3 separate regions of the Homo sapiens genome follow, and regions 2 and 3 are each linked to region 1. The links are contacts of gene promoters, found by promoter capture Hi-C in human tissues and cell types (Jung and others, 2019). All regions are on one chromosome and are shown on one strand. Each heading gives the region's core, a stretch centred on a gene start or on the middle of the fragment in contact. The rest is flanking DNA. Distances are from core to core; before and after follow the strand shown.

Region 1 (3,177 bases), core at 41-2,540:
TCTTTTAACACAAGAATTCTTCAAATGTCTGAAGATAACCAGCATGTGCTCCTAATTCCTCTTGGTTTCCTCAATCTTTCCACGCAAAAATGCATTCCTAAATCCCTATCAGTCCCTCTTCTTATCTGCAGACATGTTCTGCTTTGTTAACTCTCATCCCAAAGTGTCCAGAACCAAGCCTACTACTTGAGATATGAACTGACTAGCTTTCCACAGTGGAGTTCTAACCTCCCTTGGAGAATGAACATGCATTTTCCCCACCATAGGGTTTTTAGTGAAAAGTATAGTGTCTGACACCACAAACAAAATACTCAGTAGGTATTTGTTGAATAATGAATGAATTAATTAATTAATACACGAATGGACTTTAAGATATATTAGATTCCTTTTGCAATTGTTTCCCACTCTAGGCTCATATAACAACTGTGGACATACTTTTCATATGGATTTGGTCAGTTCTTCAAAATCTATTTACCAGTTAAAAAAAAGAGATGTTAATATAGACCTAGCAAACATATATATAGAACATTCCCCACAAAACTCGAAGGAAATTAATCCAACATAATCAAATGCTGATTTCCCTAGGGAAGTGTCCTTGTCCTTCTACAGAGAAACAGTCTCCAAACCTACATTGCTAAAATAGCCTATCTTTCAGTATTCAGACCTGACAGTTAAAAGAAATGAAGAAAAGTAGCGGCGCTGGAGGCTGCTTCTATCTCAGTGGCATGTGTAAATGGAAGCAATTTGCAAGAGATTATCTTGGGTCCAAATAGGAATGAAGCCACTATAATCTTGGAGTACTGAAGCTTTCTCATTCCTCTCCCCCTTCCCCTGTTCATCATCCTCGTCAGAGTCAAAACAGGAGCCCCGGTATTTTCCAAAATATTGGAGGTGATTTTCCATTAAATGATGGGACGAGTCATAGCTGGCTGTCTATAAGACCCCCTAACAGGTGCACACGGACATTACCAAGAAGGCTTCCTTGCCACTCACAGCGGACAGCAGAGGCTTTCTCTGCTCGGACCAATAGTTTAGATTTGATCTGTCTTGAGAATGCAACACTCGATCGACTTCCCAGCAGCAGAGCGCAAAGTTGAGGGAGAGAAAAAAGAGCGTGTGTGTGTGTGTGTGTGTCTGTGTGTGTGTCTGTGTGTCTGTGTGTGTGTGTGCGCGCGCGCGCGCGAGTATCTTGATCAGTGGGGTTGGGGCGGGCAGTAAATAAAGGGTGGGGCCAGCGAGGGGAGGAGGAAAGCAAAGATTCAGAGAAGCCGGAACGTGGCTCCGCTCCCAGTTAACCTGCTGGAGCTCATCAGGCTTGCTCAGAGCCCCTGCACCAACTCACCCTGTACCCTCTCTCCTTCTTCGTTAGTCTTCTTTCCCCCTTTTCCCTCCTCTGTCTGTGCCTATCCCCCGACTTTTGCATCTGACCAAAGGACGAATGAGGGAGACGTTCCTGCAGATCGGGGCAGCAACTTTCCTCAGCTGGTCTCTGGGCTCCGGGAGCCAGAGAGCGCTGATCCTCCGCGGTCTGCGGCCCATGGAAGAGGAGGAGGAGGAGCCGTGATGGGCTAGCGACAGCACTGAGGAGCCCCGAGAGAGCTCAGCCTTGCCAGCCAGCTCCGCGGTCCCACGCGGGTTCCCTCGAGCTCGCTCCGTGGGGAGCGCGCAGCGTGCTTGGAACCGGAGCATCCAGAGAGGATGAGGCGGGGACCCGGCCCAAGTTGGGTGCATCTCTCGGGCGTCCGGCAGCGGCTGTATCTCGGCATGAATTAAGAAGCTAGGAAGATGGAGCACGGCACACTCCTCGCCCAGCCCGGGCTCTGGACCAGGGACACCAGCTGGGCACTCCTCTATTTCCTCTGCTATATCCTCCCTCAGACCGCCCCGCAAGTACTCAGGATCGGTGAGTGAGCCCCAGGCTGCCTGCTCGGGAGACGTGGTCGGTCGCCGCACCAACGCGGGTGTAGCGGGTCCCGGGCGAGGCAGCGCGCGGCGGCGCAGGAGCCGGAGCTGGGGAAGGTGGAGGTCAGTGCTCATGGGAGGCTACACAAAAAAGGGGGAGCCGCGTCACTGCTTCCCTCCTGGAGGGTGCCGGCCTTCCCCGGGAGGTACAGTTGGCGGGTTTTTCAATCTGGGCTCCAGGAACGCGGGCTAGAGTGCGGGGATCCAGGTTCGCAGGGACCGGCACCCCTACTCTGGGCAAGGGATCGCGAGCCGCTGCAGCCACTTGAGTTGGGCGCAGAAATGAGCTCTCCCAGCCTCCTGGGTGGGCGTCTGGCAGTCCAGATCCGCAGTCCCGGTGCCTGGCAACCTGGGCTCTGGGCACTGGCAAGTATGCACGAATCTCAAGAATACAATACAGGGACCACTAGGGATGTGGGAATATCCTAGAGCCTGTTACCCCAGAGCCTCCAAGTTTTTATGCCTAAGTTGGATTCTTCCACATGGAGTCTGCCAACTCTGACGGGTTCCACTAGATTGGGGCAGAGTTCAGATCTGACTTCGAGCTGAAGATTCGAAGAGTGAGAAGGACGGTCAGTTAGCAACATCAGCAGACACTTAAGTTTCCCACTTGCTCCCTAATTTGCCCGCTTGCCTGCCACTGAGCAAGATCCAGTTCCCAGTCCAGGTAGCTTCCTAGGAGATTCAGGGCTCTGATCTCGAATGAGATAAAAAAGACACCGGAAAGCTGAATGTGGGCAGCCCAAAGATGACAAAACGCAAGGACAGTGGAAGGGGCGTGGACTGACAGCCATAAGTGTATAGCACCCACCACCAAGGTTTGGTCTGTGGCTGCATAGGGCAATTTCTGAACTTTGAGGGTTGACACAGCTCTTCGCCTTTTAAACTAAACCCAGTTATTGTTCGCTGAATCTCATTTGCCCTCCTCCTTTCCCAACCCATCGGGCTTCTTAGAGTCACGGTCACAGAGGGAGCCACAGGAGAAGCTGTGACATCACATGGGTCTCTTAGTTTCTCCCATCTTCCACTTTCAACCGCAAGAGTGAAGCCCTGATCTCTGAGGACTTCTAACTCCCCCTTTCCAGGAACTAACAGAATATGCCAGGAGCAGTGCCAGACACTGGCATAGTGACGCTTCCTGAGCAGTTGAAATTGCTCAGTTACTATACTAGCTCTGACCTACAATTAGTCAGCCCCTTTACAAAAATTCAGAAC
Region 2 (3,025 bases), core at 276-2,775, 38 kb before region 1:
TACCTTCTTGAAGAAGAAACTGAAGCTACTTTGCATCCTCCTTTGGTAATTTTAATAAAAATAATTAGCTGTATGCCTTGGAACAAGTTCTTTTTGTGAGTCAAGGGCCTTCCTGTCCCTGTAAGGATAGTCACTCTAGTGCTCTGTTACTTGTATTAAAAGCAAAGAAAGTTAAAATCATATGCAAAGCTTAGCTAATATTTGGCTTTCATGAATCATTTTTTTCCAGTGGTATTTTGAAGCATAGTTATTACAATGTCACAAATTCCCTTGATGATCTTCTCAAGATGTGCCTGTGAGACATTCTCTGGCCTTTGAAGAACTAATTAAAATGGGGACTGAAGATGGCAGATCCTCCTTGGGCCTTCCTGGGTATAATCTGACATAGGAGACCAGGAAGTTATGTTAAAATTGGATGCACCCTACAAAGAGGCCAACACACCATCTTGACTATTCCCTATTAGGACACATCGATGTGAGGCTAATGAAACTCAAAGCAACGTGGTCTACTTCTATCGAGCATTTGATTAATCATAGGGTCATGTCAAAAACAATGCTAGTCTTAAGGATAAATATTAAAGCATTGTGTTTGAGGAGTCCACTTCCCTCTGTCTGTGTCTCTCTTTACATATATGCGTGTTTATATGTGTACGTGTATATATATATATATATATGAATGTGAATACTTCCGTATTGAAATATATTGTTTCCTACAGGAGCAAAATACCATTGTAGTATGTTAATATTTTAAATATGTCGTATAAGTTTTGAAACATAAATAAGATGATGAATTTTCTAGAATTCTGTATCATCAAAATGTTGACAATAAAATGAGTCCTAGGCATTTTTCTCTAGTGATTAATGAAATACCCTGAGTTAATTTAAGTCCCCTTTTGACATGCTACTCAAGAGACAAATAAGCAATATACTTTTTAAAAATCATTTAGTAAATTTTTAGCTTGATATTCTCCTAGTGATTGGCAGAGATTTGGACAATATCAACATTGTAGAATACAAAAATGAATGAATATTTAAGTATAAAGTACATTAGATAATTGTTTTTCAGCAGAGTGTCCTTTGAAATTGTTTTGAGTGCTTAAAGAGCTAATTTTAAAATCAATTAACTTAGCATTTTTTGAGTATACACTATGCATACTAACTCAACATAGGATGAAGGCTAAAAGCATGTATGCCAGCAGGGGTGTGAGGGACTGAGCCTCCGGTTCAGAAGGAAAACTATGTGACAGAAAATCAAGTTAACAAACTGGATTATTCTAGAATCCTTTTTGTAAAAGTTGTCCAGAGAACCCATTACTAAGTTATGTGTTTTGAATTAGACAATTCACTTCCATGTATTTTTCTTCCCAATGTATTAAGTTTTCCTCCCATTTTATTAAGTTGAAATATTACCACGAACACCCATTTACAATTCACCAAGACTCTCCAACTATTAACAGTTTGTCACATTTGCTTTATTTTTCTCTTTATCTCTCTCTGTGTCTCTCTCTCTTTACATATATGTGGGTTTGTGTGTGTGTGTATATATACATACGAATATGAATACTTCCTTATCAAAATATATCATTCCCTACAGAAGCAAAATATCATTGTCATATGTTAGAATATTTGAAATATATATTTGTTTTGAAATGTAGTCAAATTAATTATTTTTAGAATTGAAATGAAAATGTTGACAATTTAAATATTCCTAATTGTCCATCCCAATTTTTTTATATCTATTAACCAGTGCTCATGCATTGCCTTTAGTGGTTATGCTACTTTAGTTGCTTTTAATCTAAAATATTGTTTTACCTTTTTTGTGGCTGCTTATGATTCTGTTATCTTGAAGGTTAAGCCAGTCATTGTTTAGGATTTTTCTTATGTATACCTTGCGATCAATTTCAGATTTAACATTTGTGCCAGGATCTTTCATAACAGTATTTCTTATTGTGTCACATAGGAAGGCCCATAATGTCATGTTGTCTTATTATTGATAATGCTAATTTCGTTCACTAAAGTGGTGACCACTGGGTCTCTCCATAGAAAAAGTGTATTTACCCCTTTGTAATTGATAAATTATCTCTATAGTAATGTTTTGTGGCCATATGTTATTCTACTCCCTAAAAAGCTTCTGCCAAATGGGTAGCATTTATAGATGATTCTTGAATGTGCCAAATATTTTGGATTGCAAAATAATGATTTTAAAAATAGATCATATCTTGTATATTTATTAGCTGCTATTCTTTACCACCATGTCTTAATAACTAATAATTGAAAGATGTGTCGTCGTAAATCCAATGTGAATAATTTATTTCCACAACTTGCAATAAAATGTATAATAGAGGACTAAAAGGAAACTTAGAGAACATTTTGCTCATTGTACCTTCCAAAAAGAGTTGTGCATTAGATGGATAAATGACTTTTGTTTTTATGTTTGTCACCGGAGACACAATGAGGAGTAAAGCATGACCCATCCCTCGTCTCTGGATACTCAGATGTATATAGGGACACTTTACCTGTATTATTTTGATTTATCTTCAGAAAAACTCCACAAAATATATGTTATTGTCAAATGCTTAAAAATGAGAAAACTGAGGCAAAATGTTTAAGCAACTTGTCCAAGTTCAAACCATTAATAACTAGGAAAGATGTCTCCTAAATATAGTTTATACTTATCTCTTAACCATAACATTATAATGTATGGGTAACAGGGGCTTCTAACTGGTAAGGATTCTTCTAATGCAACAGAAAGGATAATTCCTAAAGATGCAATCCATATGTTGCTGAGTAAGTGACACTAGGTACCTTCTGAAATGAAAAATTTTGCAAGACCATCATTAGCAGCAACAGCAGCATAGCAAACATTTAATGAATGCCTATAATGTACTAGGAATTGTTGTAAGCTCTTTGTTTATCTTAGGAGTCAACTAGAAAATGATAAATGAAAAGCCCCAAAAGTATCAGCTGTGAGATAAACATAGGAATAGAGTAAGGAGTGGTAGAATAAGAAAAAATGTCCATGTAA
Region 3 (3,127 bases), core at 158-2,657, 56 kb after region 1:
CAAAGGCTTAGAAGAAGAAGTTGAAGACTATTTAACCATACAACGTCCATTGCCCTGACATGAAACTCTGACATACATATGAACATTCATGAAAGCAAATCCACGGTCAACACAATAAATACCCTGATTTGATCATTATACAATATATGTATGTATTGAAACATCACATTATCACATTTTTGCTCAATAAATATGCATAATTACAATGTGTCCATTAAAAAGTAGTTTTTAAAATGCAGCTCATTCTCATTTACTCAAGGAGACCTAAAATATGGAGATTTTTCCAATAATGAAAATAATATTGAAATGTTTCATTTGGGATTAGAATCTTTTATGGAACAGTTTTGAGCAACATCGTCACCAAGTGAACCAGTATCTGTGTGATTTGGGAACTTTTTCTGGATAGCTCTGTGGGTGAACACTGGATGTCTGTTGAAGATTCCCTTCCAGCAATTAAGTAATCATAACTTTATGCATGTAGCTATAGTGAGAGATTAAAATTAAGAGGTTTAGTGTCAGTTTTAACTAGTCAAGTTACTTAATTTCTAAATCTCCGTTGTCTCGTCTTGAAGGTGGAGATAATAACTACTTTAAGTAAAGCATGTAGCACAATAGCTGATAATCTATGTTTTCAGTTATTACTAGTAATGCAATGTAGCTCAGAAATCCACAAACTTTATCTGTTAGGTTAGAAACATTGGCACCCACTTTCATGTTTTCTTATGTTTTACGTCATCAAATGGCAAACTGAGAGATGAACATGGCCATCAAGTAACTCTCTCCCTGACTTAGTAATTTCCTTTCTGTTTCCCTGTCCATAATACAAAGAGTCGGGGGTGGGAGTAGAGGGACGAAAGTCCTCATATGGAAAAAAATACAACCAACCTGTTCTTCCTCTTGACCATACTTAGAGAAATGGTAAGTAGACTCTGGTTAATTCAAAAACATTTTACGATAGGATAGTAAAATGAGATTTGTTTTAAAAATTACTCTGGAAAAAGGATTTATAATGGACAAATGTATATATTTAGAAGATTAGACCATATCTTGGCATCTGGCTTTGTGAACCATACATGTTGGAAAACTTAACCCTCTGCCTGTTCTTTCAACTTCCATTAAATATAATATGTTTGCTCATAGCAGCTTATCGAACAGTGATATGGGCAGGTAACAGAACCATACTACAAAGAAAAATTATTTAACAGTAGACAATGTGTTTCCCTGTATAAAATGGAGCAGCACATGGGAGTCAAGATTTCTGTCTACCTCCTTTCTTATCAATAGATTACATAAAGCATCCCCCCCTTCTTTTTAGGAAGAGTCAGAGTGGAAAAGGACTTCAATATCTCAGGCCTGAAGGAAACCTGTTGAAGCCTGTCGGGTTTTCTTTGATTGGTTTTCTCTTAGGTATTTTCTTTCTAATTATTCTGTGGTTTCACTGGTATTCACTGCAGAATATAGCTATTCTGTGCTGGGAGATTTTGAAATGTGTCTGTTCTAATTTTCTTGCAATGAGAAAAAAAAGAAAGTGGACTTTGAGAAAAAACACATAAATATTTTTAAATTTTAAACTATCATTGTAAACCAGTCTTTCCATTCCCATTCAGAATGTCACAGGATTATAGTCTGATTTCTTTATAACCTGATACCTGATAACACTGATGCCTTCCTGGGTGTCTTGAGTGTGTCTACAGAAGATCCTGATTTGGAAGGTCTAATAAGCTTTTATATTTCATTTTTATTTTTTCTATTTGGAAGGAAAATGTGCACCACTTGCTTTGTGGCAAACAGGGGACCTCAGAGGCTGATATTAAGAACTCTCTGCTTGTTAGTTATGACTTTCTTTCCTGAAACAACCAATAGTCAGTCTCGCTGAGTGACTTAATGAAGTAAAACCATTGCAAATCTATATACTTGAGAATTCTTTACTTGCTAAAGGTCAAATGTGAAGCCATTATTTTTATTTGACTCACCAGCCTCTATTGCACTTATTATCAGTTCTAATACTGTTTCATAGAACCACAAGAGTTTATAAAGTAAATTTAAATGGTTGCTGAAAGTTAGATAACTAGAAATATTTTGTAGAATATACAAATACATTTTCCTACTTCCCGATATCTGAAAACCACTAAATGGGTTAAGTTACCTTCCAAATATATTAAATACTGCTTCCAGATGAGCATGACATTGTTGAATTAGTATTGGATTGAGTCCCTCAGGTATTAGCAACAGACAAGCCACGATTCCATGAACACAGAACTATGTTAAAGCCTGAAGGAGGTAATGACTAAGGTTAAAGCTGGACTTCTGGTTTCAAGGACCTTGGGGGCTGGTTGGAAAGAAAAAGTAATTAGACATCAAGAAAGTAAAGCAAGTTGCAGCCCCTGGTTATTAGTATAAAAATAAATAAGGAAAAGAGAGCTCTGTATAGATCGTGGTAGATAGAGAATGCTTCATGGAGGAGGCCAATGTTCAGTTAAGACTTAAAGGATAAACAAGAATTTCATGTGTGGAGAAATAGAAACAAACTTTCCAGGCTCATTCAATTACTCATGCACTTTTGCCTAGCACTTATTTACCTAGGCCAGGGAATATGCATGTGAGATAATTCTCTGTTCCCAAGGACCCTCATTTCGGTTCTGTGAATTTGATAAGCTTTTTCCCTTTGTAAGTTCTTTGCGCATGATATTCCAACTACATTGCTTTGGATTCTTCCCCATCATGAGCTGCTTCTTCCAGGCGTCAAACCACACATTGGAGTGTCATTGTGAGAGCACAGAATTCAGAGGGAGACATCATGAGCAATTCTTACCCACCAGCCCTCCTTTCTTCCCACATTCTTCTCAATCGTGGAGTATTTCTACCACTAGAACCATTTCTTCAATGACAGAAGGAAAGGGAATAAACCAGAAGGAAATAGGCAATAGAAGGTTCTATATTAGTAAATGTTAAAACGTTTAAAAATACATTAAGTATGGGCCAAACTCTTTTAAAAGTCAAAAAAGGGGTACCTAGGAATAATATGGTAGTCATCAGGGAACCATGGAATTAATGGAATGTGGAGGATAGAAATGAAACCACAAAACTCATTTTCCAAACAGTAAAACCACCCAAAAGTCCCATCTCT

Evidence for each region. Contacts are between HindIII fragments. The study calls those that stand out against the background at their distance.
Region 2: a contact is called between a fragment that was not itself captured here and the fragment with the promoter of GRIK1 in region 1, in 2 of the 25 tissues and cell types used here (adrenal gland and dorsolateral prefrontal cortex).
Region 3: a contact is called between a fragment that was not itself captured here and the fragment with the promoter of GRIK1 in region 1, in 2 of the 25 tissues and cell types used here (mesendoderm cells and thymus).

Annotation. Positions count from the first base shown.
Region 1 is chr21:29,938,109-29,941,285 of GRCh38, reverse strand. GRIK1 (glutamate ionotropic receptor kainate type subunit 1) reads left to right here and starts at 1,290. Exons shown (of 18, transcript NM_001330994.2): 1 at 1,290-1,903. The coding sequence starts at 1,786. RefSeq lists an enhancer at 1,503-2,004. The HindIII fragment of the contact is 7,699 bases long and covers 1-3,177 here.
Region 2 is chr21:29,976,113-29,979,137 of GRCh38, reverse strand. No RefSeq gene overlaps it. Among named protein-coding and RNA genes, the nearest start is that of GRIK1, 38 kb to the right of the region's middle. The HindIII fragment of the contact is 3,709 bases long and covers 1-3,025 here.
Region 3 is chr21:29,882,167-29,885,293 of GRCh38, reverse strand. All of the region lies in intron 1 of GRIK1 (glutamate ionotropic receptor kainate type subunit 1), which reads left to right. Among named protein-coding and RNA genes, the nearest start is that of GRIK1, 56 kb to the left of the region's middle. The HindIII fragment of the contact is 6,023 bases long and covers 1-3,127 here.